Regions from separate parts of the Homo sapiens genome. Here region 2 is linked to region 1. Evidence: promoter capture Hi-C in human tissues and cell types (Jung and others, 2019). All regions are on one chromosome and are shown on one strand. The core of a region is centred on a gene start or on the middle of the fragment in contact, and the rest is flanking DNA. Distances in the headings are between cores, read along the strand shown. Region 1 holds the start of PNPT1 (polyribonucleotide nucleotidyltransferase 1). Region 2 has its middle 560 kb from the start of CCDC85A.

The links. Contacts are between HindIII fragments. The study calls those that stand out against the background at their distance.
Region 2: a contact is called between a fragment that was not itself captured here and the fragment with the promoter of PNPT1 in region 1, in 1 of the 25 tissues and cell types used here (dorsolateral prefrontal cortex).

What each region holds. Positions count from the first base shown.
Region 1 is chr2:55,691,229-55,696,448 of GRCh38, reverse strand. It overlaps PNPT1 (polyribonucleotide nucleotidyltransferase 1), which reads left to right and starts at 2,605. Exons shown (of 28, transcript NM_033109.5): 1 at 2,605-2,786. The coding sequence starts at 2,626. RefSeq lists enhancers at 2,416-2,565, 2,596-2,655, 2,666-2,785 and a silencer at 3,356-3,415. The HindIII fragment of the contact is 13,131 bases long and covers 1-5,220 here.
Region 2 is chr2:56,742,040-56,747,259 of GRCh38, reverse strand. No RefSeq gene overlaps it. Among named protein-coding and RNA genes, the nearest start is that of CCDC85A, 560 kb to the right of the region's middle. The HindIII fragment of the contact is 4,990 bases long and covers 1-4,766 here.

The sequences.
Region 1 (5,220 bases), core at 1,356-3,855:
CATGATGAAACCCCATCTCTACTAAAAATCCAAAAAATTAGCCAGGCATGGTGGCAGGCACCTGTAATCCCAGCTATTTGGGAGGGCTGAGGAAGGGGAATCACTTGAACCCCGGAGGCGGAGGTTGCAGTGAGCTGAGATCACGCCACTGCACTCTAGCCTGGGCAACAAGAGCAAAACTCTGTCTTGAAAAAAACGAAAAGGCTGGATGAAAGCTAAATTTACCATTTATTGAGTGTTGACAATGTGCTAGGTACTATTATATCATCTGACACTTTTTTTTTTTTTTTTTTTTTTGAGACGGAGTCTCGCTCTGTCGCCCAGGCCGGACTGCGGACTGCAGTGGCGCAATCTCGGCTCACTGCAAGCTCCGCTTCCCGGGTTCACGCCATTCTCCTGCCTCAGCCTCCCGAGTAGCTGGGACTACAGGCGCCCGCTACCGCGCCCGGCTAATTTTTTGTATTTTTAGTAGAGACGGGGTTTCACCTTGTTAGCCAGGATGGTCTCAATCTCCTGACCTCATGATCCACCCGCCTCGGCCTCCCAAAGTGCTAGGATTACAGGCGTGAGCCACCGCGCCCGGCCGACACTTTTAATCCTTACAAAAACCCTATTAGATTCATATTACTATCTGTTTTTATGGGGAAACTGAGGCTCAGAGAGCTAGAGTCACACAACTGGTAATTAACAGAGACAAGATTGGAACCAGCTGGGACTAACTCCAAGTCTATGCTCTAAACTATTAGGCAATACTGCCCAAATGAAAATGATTACATAGTAATTAAGTATATTAACAAAAAGATGATTTTGTATTCTTACTCTATAAATCAAAAGTCATGTTCAATTGTGGCAAGTAGGTTTTCTGAGAGATTTATCTTCATGAGAGATTTCAATAGATTGGTCTGGAAAACTCTGTGGCAACTCAAGGTAAAGTAAAAGGGAGGAGACGCAAAAACTGCTTTAACACTAAAAATCTGTAAACAAAGTTAATGGTAATCCCTCTATTGGAATGGAAATCCCAAATCAGTAATAATAGCTCATGAAAGCAAGGTGTCAGAAAACTGCTTTGCCAGCAAATCATTTGTCTGTTTAGAGCTCATCATTCTTTTTTCTTTTTTAAATCATCACGGATCAACATTTTTAATTTTTTTTTTTTTTTTTTTTTTTTTTAGATGGAGTCTCGGTCTGGAGTGCAGTGGCGCGATCTCGGCTCACTGCAACCTCCGCCTCCTGGATTCAAGCGATTCTCATGCCTCAGCCTCTGGAGTAGCTGGGATTACAGGCACGCGCCACCACACCGAGCTAATTTTTGTATTTTTAGTAGAGACGCGGTTTCAGCATGTTGGCCAGGATGCCCTGGGTCTCTTGACCTCGTGATCCACCCGCCTCTGCCTCCCAGCGTGCTGGGATTACAGGCATGAGCCACTGCGCCCGGACTTTTTTTTTTTTTTTTTTTTTTTTTTTTTTTGAGACCGAGTTTCACTCTTGTTGCAATGACGCGATCTCGGCTCACTGCAACCTCCGCCTCCCGGGTTCAAGCGATTCCCCTGCCTCAGCCTCCCGAGTAGCTGGGATTACAGGCATAAGCCACCATGCCCGGCTAGTTTTGTATTTTTAGTAGAGACGGGGTTTCTCTGTGTTGGTCAGGCTGGTCTCGAACTCAGGTGATCCGCCCGCCTCGGCCTCCCAAAGTGCTGGGATTACAGGCGTGAGCCACAGCGTCCAGCCAACGTTTTTAATTCTTAAAACTGTGTTTGAATGAGTGTTGGGTTTTTGTTGTTTGGTTTTCTTTGGGGTAAGGCGGTTATCACCTTACACAAAAAATTTACATCATAATATGAAAATGCCCATTGGTTCATTCAAGGAAAAACATAAAGAATTTCTAACAGAATGGATTAATGGGGTGGAAGAAATTTATCCATTCTCTAAAAATTTTTCAAATCCCAAAAACTTTTTTTTTTCATTTTACAAAATATTTACTTCAAACAGTAGCTGGCATTTTGCATTTAAGAGTTCGACCAAAAGGGACAGAAATATAAATTGCTAATTATTAGCAATGGAAATGAAAATGAATCAGAAGTGACAATAAAGATTTCTAAAATTACAAGTCGATGAAAAATGAATTTACTGTAAATTGGTTAACACAAATCGCTGTAGTAACATATCTGCTATGTGAAATTTTTAAAATAAAAACCAGGGCGGAGAAGGGGAGAAGGAGATCTCTTTCCAAGGCCCACCACCCAAATTCTAATTCTTAGTTCACAGATCCAAATAATAATAATGTGTTGTTCTATGACTTCTAGTATTAAAAGTAAATATAAATTTACTCTGCATATTAAACATTTACATTATTCTAGGACTTCTCCTTTAAATTACGATAGTACACACACAAAAACCTTATTTATCTAATTGCCTTTCGTTGGCACATAAAGACAAAGATCGTTTGCAACATAATCGCGTTCTGATAGGTTTGACCCTCTCTAGTCTTCGTAGAAGGTGGCCAAGGTTTCCGTTACCCCGGCGTCCCTCGGGCACCGCGGAAACGAAACTCCATCAGGCTCCGCCCCACGGTCTGCGGAGTGAGCCAATCAGGGCACAGCCTGCGTTGACCGCGTGCCGGGTGTCATGGCGGCCTGCAGGTACTGCTGCTCGTGCCTCCGGCTCCGGCCCCTGAGCGATGGTCCTTTCCTTCTGCCACGGCGGGATCGGGCACTCACCCAGTTGCAAGTGCGAGCACTATGGAGTAGCGCAGGGTCTCGAGCTGTGGCCGTGGACTTAGGCAACAGGTAAGGAGTGACGTGCGTTCACTGTATTGTCATAAGGTGTCTTGTCCAGCCAGCTTGAGCGTATTCATCTCCCAGGGTAGAAACCCGGTATCCCAGCTCTATTTAATCTCTCCTTACCCTAAACCTAAATTCCAAATTTCCCTTTCCGGGTTTGGAATGTGTCTCCTCGGACCCTCCTTCCCGCGCTATGTCGTTCTCTCTGTTGGTGTGTGCCGGGCTTCTTTGCTCCATCCGACTCTGTCCGTCCACCTGACTTCCGATCTCTTTACTTTCCGGGACCACTGGGCTCTTAAGTGGGAAACATTCCACCTAGGAATAACGAGTTGACGTGGGTGAGACGAGGCCCCCCGGGATGCTGGCCCGGACCCTGGAAGCTGGGGCTCTGATGCCCCTCGAGCTGGGACACAGACCTCAGCAGAGGCTCCGGGTGGCTAGTGCACCACGGGTCCCCCACGTCCCACTCCTCGGGCTCCTTCAGCCTCCTCTTCACCAGGAGCCTACCTTGTAGAAGTTGAACACCAGGTCCAGTTCACAGACATTGTGGAAATATTCGTTTAAGACCTGGGAGAGGAAGGCAGAGATGGTAAGAGATGGACAGGGAGAGAGCCACACACGCACAGAGATGGGAACAAGGTCATCAGAAAGAGACAGCAAAAAAAAGAGACCAAGAGGGAGGCAGGGGAGAGAGAGAGACAGTGACAGGGAGAGAGGCAAGGAGACACACAGAGAGAAACAAAAGCAAAGATCGATGCAAAGAGATGGCAAAAGGTCAGGCGCTCACACCTGTAATCCCAGCACTTTGGGAGGCTAAGACGGAAGGATGACTTGAAGTTAGGAGTACAAGATATCATGTCATCCAATCTAATTGATTGCCTAAAGTGTGACCACTATGACCCTGGGTTAGGAGGAAAAGGAAAAGTCAGTTTTTTGAACGCCAGTTATATGATCCTCGCAATCTTTTTAAACCTGTCGTAAAGGTACTATTACCCTCATTTTATAGTTAAGACTACAGAGGCTCAAAAAAGGTTAGATAACTTTCTAAGAGTCTATAAAAAAGTTAGTATTATGGGACTAGGTGGTTTTTGAATTTCTGTTTTTTGCTTACAAAGCCCATACTTTTTTTTAGGGGACCGCTTTTTAAAAAAAAAGTTTGCTTTAATCGTTCTTAGAATAAATGGAATTGCTAATGCAAACTTCATATATCTAAATTTTTTACGTGTACTTTGAAAAAATTTGGACCCCAGTTCATACAAAAAGCAAAAAAATCATTTTGAATCCAGGTCTCGCACTCTAACTTTGATAAGTAGTTGACATTGAACAGGTTAATTCACCATTTTCTTGTGCAAAGTGTGGAGAGTGGATTCCATCAAGGGTCTGCAAACTTTTCTATAAAGGACCAGATAATATATATATTAGGCTTTTTGGGGTACACACTGTGTGTATGTGTTTACAAACCCTTTAGAAATATTTTAAAAAACGGCCGAGCACAGTGGCTAACACCTGTAATCCGAGCACTTTGGGAGGCTGAGGTGGGTGGATCTCCTGAGGTCAGGAGTTCGAGACCAGCCTGGCTACAATGGTGAAACCCCGTCTTTACTAAAAATACAAAATTAGCTGGGCGTGGTGGCAAGCACCTGTAATTCCATTTACCTGGGAGGCTGAGGCAGGAGAATCGGTTGAACCCAGGAGGCAGAGGTTGCAGTGGCAGAGATCGTGCCATTGCACTCCAGCCTGGGTGATAAGAGTGAAACTTTTGTCTCAAAAAAAAAAAAAAAAAAAAAAAATATATATATATATATATATATATATATATAAACATTTTTAATTGAAGAGTAATATAGAAATAGGCCACAAGCTGTAGTTTGGTCACCCCTAGACTAGGTTATCTCTAAGGCTTATTCCACTCCCAGCATTCATTAATTCTGATTTTTGAGGGAAGTGGACATCTCTTCCATTCTTCAAGGACTACACATGCTTCAAAGAAATGCCCAGAACATTTCATTCAACAGACACATACTGTGAGATAGGCATTAGATACTGAAAACAAGATGCAGCTGCTGCCCTCCATATTTTCCATAAATAATCTACTTTGACTCTTTCATTTATTAATCAACCTGTTCCTCTTTTGTAGGTAGTTCTTTTTAAACTCGTGTCATGTGTTGAAATAACTAGACTAATAAAATATCATACCTGCTGGATAAATTCTTTCATTTTTGTCTTGTTTGCCATTGGCAACATTTATTGAGTGACTACTATGTACCAGGCACATTATATTTGTTATCATATATATTCTTTACTGCATTCTGGAAGATTATATAATTATTGTAGGTGTTTTTCAGATAGTATATTTAATGCTTACAGTAACCTTGGAGGCAGGTGTTTAATTTTCATTTCAGCAAGCTTTTATTGAGCATCTACTATGTATCAAATCACT
Region 2 (5,220 bases), core at 1,022-3,521, 1.1 Mb before region 1:
ACGAGCTTGTCATACTGATAAAATAAAACTTTGCTCACTGAGAAAATGATGCCTCCTCTCCTTTTGGACTCTGACATGTAACATTGGGTTCCTGTTTCAGTAGGGTCCAAACAGAAAACTGATGTCATAAGGATGGTTTCAAATTTATAAACAAGTCAGCAGATTCTAGGAAAACACACACACACACACACAAATGTAGTTAACCTGGGGTTAGCAACCACAGAGCTATTACTATCTTTAGACCAAAGAGAACAATGGAAAAGTGTATAATACAACCTGACAGTGGAGCATCATGTAGAAAAGGCCACCTTGAGTAGAGCAATAACTTTCAGTCTACTGACATAGAGCTAGCTTCACAGTTAGAGAGTCCCACTCTCCTCCCTACCTCTCATTTTCTGCTGAGGCACTTCACTGAAAACCCCACCAGAAGCCAGAGGGAAGAGCCTCTCATAGTAGTCAATACAGCTCAGCCTCCCCAGGTGGCTAACGGAAAAGGTAGAAAGGGATACAGTTGAATCTGGAGGAGCAAATATAAATGCCTGGCACAGTTTGCCATTTCCACAATGAAGAAGGGGTGCCAGGAAGGCGGGTGGCCTTAAGATCAACCATATGCTCATGAAGCAGAAGAAAACTAGCAGCTTTCCATCTTAGCTTCCATTATTTTAACGAGTTTCCTCATCTCTATTATTTCTTTGCCCCCTTGGGTGATTCTACTTCTTATTAGCAAGATTGCTTTCATATTAGCTTCCAATCACACCACATGAGGATACAGAGACCTGATATAACTCTACTTCTCTGCAGGAGTCTCTACACCCTGTTTGCATACTCCTCCAAATTTATGCCTCTAGTATGGTTGCGAATATTCTCACCCATGATGTAGCATGAAATTCTCAGTCTACAAGGTGCATGAGATTTACCTGGTGAGCTTGTTGAAAGGCAAAACCTTGAACCCACCCCTCAGAAATTCTGAATCAGTTGGTCTGGCCTATAACCCTGGAATCTCTATTTAAAACAAGCATGATCTGTGATTCTCATGCATGTGCTTGAAGGAACACATGTTGAGAAACTCTTGGTATAGTTGCTCCACTAAAGACAGCATATTACTGATGATGCATTTCAGAAAAAAAATTAATGTATACAACAATATTTAAGAAAATAGAAATTTTGGTAAAAGCTATATGATGCCAAAAATAGAAACAGAACTATGCAGTGATTTGCTTAATTCACAAGTAAAACTAAAAGTGAATGGAGTTACTACAATAAATATTCAGTTGTTAGTGATGTGAACTGCAAAGGTTTTACATTTTCCTATGATCAATCAGTGAATAATGGTTCATGGTACTTTGGCTTTATATTTCTCTAAGAACTGACCCCCAGGGTCACCTAATTTTAATTTCTAATTGACACATAATAACCTTTGGAATCAACCTAAGTGTCCAACAATAGATGAATGAATAAAGAAAATGTAGTATAAATATATAATGGAATAGTAATCAGCCACTAAAAACAAAATTCTTTTATTTGCAACAACAAGTATGAATCTAGAGGTTACTATGTTAAGTGAAATAAACCAGACACAGAAAAACAAATACTTCATGATCTCACTCATATATGAATCTTAAAAAGTTGATCTCTTAGAAGGAATGATGAGAACAGTGATCATGTAATGATTTTCATACCAACATTTCAAGTCACTGGGGGAGTTTATACCTTAAAGGAAACTTGTAAATTGTTTTGTATTGTTAAATATTTTTTAATGTGAAAGGGAATTCTCTGCAGGATATATCAGCTTTTTTATTTATTTATATTTATAAGGTTTTCATATAGAGAAAAAGTCAATAAACTTTTTCTGTAAATGGAAAGATAGTAAATAGTTTAGGTTTTGCTGGACATAAAATGGTCTCCGCCAAAATTGATCCTGCTATTATAATGTGAAAGGAGCTATAGACAACACAAAAGCAAATTAATTTGTTTCAATAAGACTTTCTTTGTGGTCACCAAATTTATAATTTTATATCATTTTCACAGGTCATGAAAGATTCTTCCTTAATTTTTTTCAACCATTTAAAAAGATGAAAAACATTCTTTCTTCATAGGTTGTGTAAAAAATAGATGCTGGGTTATAATTTGTTGGCTCCTAATTTTAGACAATCTTGGGGGTTATGGTAATTAGAACACATAGAATTTATTTTTTCTTATTCCTAGACATAAAGCATGAAAAATATTAGGTCCTCAAGCAATCCATGATACCTATCTATAATTCCCAACTGGGTCTTAAAGGAAAGATAAGGAAAAAGACAAATCACAAAGACCTGTGATTGAGTCCCAGCTGGTTGTTTCACCTCCACAAACTGTGTCACCTTGGGCAAATTACTTCTCTGTAGGCCTCACTTCCTTCACCTATTGAAGAGGTTGATTATCCCCACTTCACAATGTTACTATGATAATTTTTTTAAAAAGTTAATAATATAAGTATTCACCACTGTGTCTGGTACCTTAAAAATGCCTCTTAAAGATGAACCTCTTTCTCTTTGGTTAAAATAAAAATAATTTACTGATTATAATCAAATCCTGGTATTCACTTAACTGTAGTTCTCAACCTTGGCAGAATATGAGAACTTCCAGGAAGAGTTATAAACTTTTGATGATAGAGCAACAATCCTAACCAAGTAAATCAGTATCTCTTGATGGATGGGACCCAAGACTCAGTATTTTTAAAGCTTCCCAGTGTGCACCCAAGGTTGAAGGCCTTCACCTTTCACCTTGCTATTTCTTAAACAAAAAAAATGAAACATCAATGCTTCTGTTGTCATCATGTAAATGTTGGAGACATTGGTAAGCAGTTTACTTGGTCATTTATCTCTCTCTCTCAAATAGACTTCTCTTCTGCTCCACTACCTGCCCCGCCACCACTCTTGACATCCCACTGCAAGTTGTTTGGGTTATTCTTTATCACTGAGCTCCTACAGTTCCCTATCTCCTCCAATTTTTTCTTATCCTTCCCTCTAACCCCACTTCATCATCACACAGACAGCCAAGGAGGACCTGGCTGGAAAAGCTTGTAGCACGAGCACATGTATCAACTGGAAAGGGAAGGAGAGACTGAGGACATGACCATATCTCTGTGGATACCTAGGAAAGAAATCAAAATTGCTGAAATTGGACCCTCCATCATGAGCAGCCAGAGAGGCAATAGTAATGCCAAGTCTATACAGGATTGCTAAATGACAGGAAGACACCAAAGGTCAACTGGAGTGGCCACATTAGAGGATTCCACTCCAGGTGACTGTAGTAGTCTCAGACAGTAAAGGATCGGAGTTACAGCAAACAGCACAGTACAGAGATGTGATTTAGTGGCCAGTAATGTATATTTTAATCATATTTTTAATTTAACTTTTATATTTTTCATAACTTCACATTCGATACATTTTTCAAATATTAGCATTTGAAAAGCATGAAGCAAGGAGATTGTTAATTCTGTTAAATATATTTTCACTTTTTTTTTTTTTTTTTTACAAAATGCCAGGGTTGCAATATCACGCCCCCCAACACACACACACACACACACACACACACACATACATACAGTTCTGGCATTTTTCCCAGCATTGTAATCACCGCTTCTCGCATCTCCTGATGCGTATGAAGTTTTAGAGGATCTCTTTCTGGCCACCCTCACTGCAGATGAAGCACCATGACCTAGAACTCTCTCTCAATGGGCACTGGTGTTCCAACCAAACTGGCTCAGCTAAACCTTTCCTACCTCACTCGCCAAGCCTTCATGCACATTCCGAAGGTTAACAGTATCCTCTCTTCCAAGGGCTGCCAACAATTAGGTAAGGCAAAGACTGAGAAGATAAACCATATTTGATTGACACCAAATCAATAAATCTTGAATTGGCTGGCTCTTAAGGGGAGATGAAGAAATGGACTCTGTGTTAAATGTAAAATCAGCAGTGGCAGAGCACTGTCGTGAAATAAAAGTTAATATTATCTCAGATTCCTGACAACCATATGACACGTCATGATTTTTAATATTAGATAAAATCTGGGCACCTGTCATGTACTTAAAGCAAGCCACTTTTTTTCTTCTTTAAAATTTTCTTCTAAGACAAATGCATTAACTACAGAGAACAACCTCTCATTTCTTTTTCCCTTCTGCCTCCCCCATCCTGTCTCTCATAGCTCACTACTTTCTCTATTTCCCATTTTTTTTACATTTCTAAGAAAATTGGCAAAACCTTGTTTTTAATAATCCACAGAATTAAAAAAATTATAGTTGGGTATATATCTAGTCACAATAAGCTAAATAACAAATTCAAAATAAATAGCAGTTTCCTTTTGCTCACTTGGAAGCTAAGAATGATTGTGTAAAGGAAACATTTGAGTAGGAATTCACTGCCTGCTGCTGAAAGCCAGGCTTGCTGTAAACATGTACACAATTTAACAAATGAAGATATATTTGTCCAAACATGACCTCTACAGGGGTCTCACAATTCTGCTGTTCCCATTTCATTTCCTTGAGAAGTAAAAGTTACTTTAAAACCTATAGACAGATCCTCATCTTAAGAACACTGCTTGATTTCTGCTCTCCATACTCCACAGAAATATTGAAGACCTAAACTGATTATGAAAACCTCAGTTACCATATTTCTAAATATATTGCATTATTAACAGATGTCACCTGGAAAATAGTTCAAACATTTGTGGTCTCCTTATTTTTAAGTTGCTATCAAGCTTAATATATGCCTACTGATGCTAAATCTGCAGATATAAGCAAAACCTCCACAAAAGCTTAAAACAACTATTTGAAACAACCACAAAAATATGGAAACTTTGTAAATAAAACTTTTGTGAGATAAAAAAAAATACAAAAATCTGCTCCCTCACCCCAGAACCCAGGGAAATGCTATTCATGAAAAAGGAAAGAAAATACTTCCTCACTTTACCCTTGTCAGGGAGACAAAATTTTACCTCTACCCTCCTAGGGTTTTAGACAGAACCTAATAATTAAATTGACATAAGTCAGATTAACCAGAGAAAAGCATAGAAATTTAATATAAATTTTATGTAATACGGGAGCCCTAATAAGGAAAAGAAGACCCAAAAATTGACAAAACCTAAAAGCTAATATATTAGGTTGAAAACAGAGAGGCAATTGTGGAAAAGTAACTAAATTCTGTGGGGAAGCTAAAAGATGACAAGAATTATTTTGACAAG